Regions from separate parts of the Homo sapiens genome. Here region 1 is linked to region 2. The links are contacts of gene promoters, found by promoter capture Hi-C in human tissues and cell types (Jung and others, 2019). All regions are on one chromosome and are shown on one strand. Each heading gives the region's core, a stretch centred on a gene start or on the middle of the fragment in contact. The rest is flanking DNA. Distances are from core to core; before and after follow the strand shown.

Region 1 (2,957 bases), core at 422-2,921, 1.4 Mb before region 2:
AAAAAGAGATTACCTTAACCACAATAAAAAGAAGACAACACATATTATTTTCATTCTTAACTCTAGGGGAAAAAATGTAAACATTAGTTGCAAAAAGCTATTTTAGTGTATGGAAGGATGTTCTTGGGAAAAAAATAAAAACATAAAAGGGAGAGAGGAAATAAAGAAACCACGGTTTTGTGAGGTAGTACTTTCAAAGGGATCTATGTATCTCAGAAGCTAGTCAACAGGTTTTAAGTATGTGGAATTGTAGGGTTTTATATAAAAATGGAAGATACAGTCTCTACTCTTAAGGAGATTAAAACACAAACATCTCCTCAATTGACAAGGTCTCTTTCCATGCTTTCTATCTGGGCTAAGAGACTTATCCTTGAAAAATGTTTGTGGGTAAACATTTTTTACTCTCTGCTTCCCATTGTCCTATCCTCTTCTCCATGCCTGCCATCCTTAAGAGGACTGAAGCAGGTTATAGAGGAATCGCAGCTGTGCACTCCCACTACCCTCATCTCTTCAGTCACCATGTCATTAACAGCATCTCTCTCTGCTATATTCTCCCTCCTTTCAATAGCCCAGCCTTCTTTGTGTTTCAAAGCAGGCAAGAAGCCTGTCTAGCTAGCTGTTTAAATTGGAATTCTTCTAGAGTTTGATTCTTCATTTTCTTCTTTCTCCACTAAAATTGATTTCACATGTGTTTGACTCAAGGGTGAACCTGGTGTGGTTGGTGCTGTGGGCACTGCTGGTCCATCTGGTCCTAGTGGACTCCCAGGAGAGAGGGGTGCTGCTGGCATACCTGGAGGCAAGGGAGAAAAGGTACGTGTTGACCCCTATTACATATTGTTGATGAACTCTAGTAAAGAAGGCTGCACAAGGATGCCCAAGTTTTCACAATTCTTGGCAGGTGGTCTGGTAGCATTTTCATATCTATCTATATACATTTCCCTCTGCCACCTAGCACCTACACATTTCTAAACTCACTAATCTGGCAAAATTCCTTGCTACCATGGAATTTCACACAAACAGATGGTGTTGAGTAATACATGAGGCTCATTTTAATGCCACTAACAATAATGCCTCATCCTGTCCTAATTAATGGGAAGAAGCTACATTGAACAGCTGTCAACCATGCTGCTGCATTAGTTATGCCGTAAGAGTGATCAGGCGCTGCAGCCCATTGTGATGTTGCCTTACAATTCTGTCCACATGAATCTGTACCTTGCTTGATTATGCTTCAGGAGAGTGTACGGAAATTAGAAAAGATTGTTTAACAATAATCTGGAAATGGCCTTGAATTATTTTTTCCTCATTATTTTTCTCGATTAACATTCTACAGAATGGTAAGGAATCGAGACATTGCTAAAAATCTTAAATGACTGAAGGTATCATAGCATCTTCTGTAAAAAAGAAAAAAACTTCATATTAATTTCGATTCAAAATTTTGGTCAGAAAACAAAAAGTTGCTCTTGCTTTATACTTTCAGGGTGAACCTGGTCTCAGAGGTGAAATTGGTAACCCTGGCAGAGATGGTGCTCGTGTGAGTAGAATTTTGTTTGTATGTTTCTTCGTACTTGGATTTTTTTTTTATGTTTGAATTGAGAAGTTTTCCAAATTAGAACTACACACACTTTATTTATCAAGTTTAATAAAATAATATTCCTTTCTCTCCTGGGTCTATGACTAATAATATCATTTTACATGTTCCAAAGGAAAAATTAAATGGGATTTAACCTCTTTGAAAATAATATCCTGAATTTTCTAACTTCCCTAGTGTCAATGATACCAACTACAAACTATAGACCAAAAGCTTTAGGTTTAATAGAATATTAAATGATTGCTTCAAGTGATAACAGAGATTAAAATAAATAAATAAATAAGTCTCCTATGCTTTAGGAAGCCGGGACCTCTAACAAGATTCTATAGTTATTCAAACCTACTCCCTAGAAATTTATCACCCAAAGAGCAGCCCCAAAGATTAGCTGTTAATGCCATGAAGATGCCAAAGATAATCCCATGACAGTCTAATTACCTTATCTCGTATGTCAGCCTCATGGGTCTTCTAGGCCACAGTCGGCCTGGATTCCTTTATTCACCTCTCCTTCAGAGCTGAAAACTGACTGTAGCACATCTGTAATAGTCTTTCTTTTGAATCACGTAGTTCTAACAGTTTCAAACAAGGCTACTCATTTGCTGCTCTCCAGGGAATTTTACAATAGCGGAAAGTTCAGATCTCCCAAATTTCTGACCTGCTATTGACTTACACATTTCCATAACCTTTATTACTGGAGTACCCTCCTTCTGAGAGTGGCTTCTAATAGTCTTGTTAATTAGAACCAAAATACATCAGAGGCCTTCTAGATATCCAACCAGAGTGCAGTGAAAGTGTTCAGTCACTGTATAAGCACAGAAAAAAAGAATGACAAGGTTCACTTTTGATGATACGGGGTGTTATTAATAAGACATGTTTCCTTTTTGGTACTAGGGTGCTCCTGGTGCTGTAGGTGCCCCTGGTCCTGCTGGAGCCACAGGTGACCGGGTAAGCATGCATTTTCACTAAGCCAACAGCAATATCTAAAATTTCCCGCCTTCCCTAGTCCCAAAGAGCCCCAGCAATTCATTTTTATGGCTTGGTATAAAGCCTACTTATTTAAAAACCTAGCTATTGTGATAGAGCAGCAGGAAACAAATGCTGTGTGTTTAAAATTACTTTTCCCTTCCTATAGATTTGCCAGCTATCTGATCTATACTCTAATCCCTAGCATTTGTTTTAAAGTCTCTCCATGTTGCGCATTAACAATATCCTAATGCACTGAGGCTTCTCAAAGCCTTCAATTATTACCAAAAAATCAATAAAATACATAGTGTGCCCATTTCACATTGAACTCTCCACTTAAAATAGATCTTATTTATTGTATTGCAAAGATTGCCACAAATAGATCAGCCCCGTGTCCATCTAAAAATTA
Region 2 (2,912 bases), core at 238-2,737:
CAGATGAATGGGAATTCAAATCTCAGCTAGATCACTCAGTGGTTATGGAACTTGGGCAAGGGAGTTAACTTCTTTGACTCAAGTTCCTTTTCTGGAGGCATGGCATTCGTTATATGTACTACATAATGTTATAGAAAAGTTAAAGAAAAATGTATGTAGAATTGACATGTATTAAATATTCAGTCACGGTAGTGGCAAATATTTATTTCCTAGATTTTTCCTTCTGGAATACCTTGAATACCTTCTACCTAGACATTTAACCTCTTCATTTCTAGCCATAGTTACAATCGCAGTAGATTAGCCAGGGAGGCCAAAGTTTTAGAATAAGGATGGCCATTTACAGATGAGTATGTATTCATACTGTATTCATACTAGAATCTGTATTTATTTTGAAATTACTGTAGTACTTGTGAATTAATAAGTTCATAAATATTTACTGAGTACCCATTATATATCAGAATGCTGTTCTAGATACTAAGAATACAGCAGTGAACAAGATAGCGTCCCTGCCCTCCACTAATTTACATTCTAATGTGTAAAAATACACCACAGATGTGCAAGAAATATGATGAAAAGCTCATCTATAAAATGATACCAAACCCCCTAACATCCCAAACTCAATTTTTTGGCCTTATAACTTAGCTGTTGTGGCAAGCTTGTTTTTTGCAGAGTCCAATAATAGTTACCCAGATTTTTTTTTGTTTCCCCGAGACGGAGTTTCGCTCTTGTTGCCCAGGCTTTGAGTGCAGTGGCGGGATCTCGGTTCACCACAACCTCCGCCTCCCGGGTTCAACCATTCTCCTGCCTTAGCCTCCCGAGTAGCTGGGATTACTGGCATGCACCACCACGCCCGGCTAATTTTGTATTTTTAGTAGAGACGGGGTTTTTTCATGTTGGTCAGGCTGGTCCCCCAACTCTCGACCTCAGGTGATCCGCCCTCCTCGGCCTCCCAAAGTGCTTGGATTACAGGCGTGAGCCACCGCGTCTGGCCAGTTACCCAGATTTTTAAAAGCTGGGACTTTAAGAAGCAATGTGAAGACAAGCTACACACACACCACACCACACACACACACACACACACACACACACACACAGACACACACACTTAATTCTTTTTTCTTCTAGAAAAATTGGGATCAATCAGACCTATAAGTCATTGTGTACAACAGGTAGATCTGAGCTTTATTTCTATTTAAATGACCTTAAGAAGTGTAGTTGCCTGGGAGTGAAAGTTGTTCAATGGTGGCATTTCAGCAGGAGCTCCCAGAATATTGAAGCTCTTCTCTTTGCAGCAACTGAGGTCTAAGTCCTACCGACGTTAGAGGGATAGACGAATTGACCTTTCCAGGTCCTCTGCTCGCCACCAGCCTACGGAGCGGCGCCACCCCCTCCTGGCGAGACCGGGCGCGGAAGACGCGGAGCGGAGGCCCTCCCTCAGGAGGGGCGCGGGCGTGGAGGGCGTGGGCAGGGGGCGGGGCGAGCCCCGCAGACTGAGTGCTCCGGGGAGCTGTCAGTGTCAGGCTCTGGGAGAGAGGAAGTGATCGCTCCCGGAGGAGCGCGAGCCGAGCGGCCGGCGCAGCGTGAGACAGCACATCCTGCCCGCGCCGGCCCCGCCACCTTCGGGAGCCGCCTGCACCAACGCTGCCGCCGCCCAGGAGCCGCCGCCGGCTCGGGGAGCCCAGTTCCGCCGCTGCCGAGCGCGTCCAGGTAAACTGGAGCGGGATGTCGCCGCTCCCCGGACGGCCGCCTCCGCACCTCTCCCCAACCCTCCCCACCCCGGTGTCGTCTGCGCTGGGAACCAGGCTGGAGCCGAGGCCCCTGCAGCCGCAGCCGGACCCTTGTCCTGGCCCCCTGCCCAGGCTCCTGCGTGCTCCGCTGAGCCCGAAGGCGGCCAAAGCCCCCCAGTGACACCCCCCTCTCGGCAGAGCCGAGAGACTAGGGCAGAGAAGGAAGGGTCGTGGTGTCACCACCTGGTCGCCCACCTTGTGGGCTGGGAAGGGCGTCCCAGTGCGCCCCGCCTCGGTCTTCCCCGGGGGAGCAGTGGGCGAGCGGCGCTGAAATCTGCACCCCTCTGGGCCACCGGCTGACTGCCCCTGGAGGAGGGGGAAAGCTGCAGAGGGAGGGGAAAGGATGCTGTTTGATTACATTTCGAGCTGTCTGCAAAGCTCTTAGATGCTGTCACTACCCTGCAAGTCGGAGGGAGCGAATTCACTTCCAGCAGGGCATTAATTAAACACTTCAAAGCGAGAAGATGCCAGTTTCTCTCTGCTGCGAAAAAGTGTGGCTGGGGGATGTTGTTTTGGTAAACACCTTCACGGCCGCCTGGCTCTCCTTCCCCCGCTCCCATTCGGAATCGCTCTGGCCTTATAAATCCGTGCGTCGTCATCATAAGGGCAGTGATCCTGGCAGCGCTGATGGGAACTGAGTGTGCGGGAGTCTCATGACTTGTACCTTGGCTAATAAGATTAAACAGAAGCCCAGGATCAGGACAGGAAATTACATAGGAGATCAGAGACTCAACAACATGCAGAAGATGGAATATATTCGCTATTCTGGCCTCTACTAATCCTAGGTAAGGGGCAGGAACAAGTAGCCAGCCATTTTCTTGCTTGGAATGCCTTTCAAGTGGGCATTGTAGACTTATTGTAGTTCAGAGTTGTGAAGAATTGCTTCCAAATATTCCAGATTAGCAAAAAGTATAGCTAACAGTAAGGCATAGGCAACTGCAGGTGACAACCCAACGCCTGATGTTAACACAGACATGGGTAACCAGTCTGTGTACATACTTTAATTGTGGAAATTATAGAGATATACGTTGATCAGTGTTAGTAAATTTGAAAAGGGAATATTCAGTGCAATTTGCAAGCTGAGGGTACTGGTGAGAATGTAATACTACCTCTAATTATTTAAAA

What was found. The method cuts DNA at HindIII sites, captures the fragments that hold promoters and counts their contacts. A contact is called where the count stands out against the background at its distance.
Region 1: a contact is called between a fragment that was not itself captured here and the fragment with the promoter of DYNC1I1 in region 2, in 1 of the 25 tissues and cell types used here (small bowel).

What each region holds. Positions count from the first base shown.
Region 1 is chr7:94,417,022-94,419,978 of GRCh38, forward strand. COL1A2 (collagen type I alpha 2 chain) reads left to right here. Exons shown (of 52, transcript NM_000089.4): 32 at 703-810; 33 at 1,478-1,531; 34 at 2,477-2,530. Among named protein-coding and RNA genes, the nearest start is that of COL1A2, 24 kb to the left of the region's middle. The HindIII fragment of the contact is 6,036 bases long and covers 1-2,957 here.
Region 2 is chr7:95,771,067-95,773,978 of GRCh38, forward strand. It overlaps DYNC1I1 (dynein cytoplasmic 1 intermediate chain 1), which reads left to right and starts at 1,488. Exons shown (of 17, transcript NM_001135556.2): 1 at 1,488-1,707. The HindIII fragment of the contact is 6,379 bases long and covers 1-2,912 here.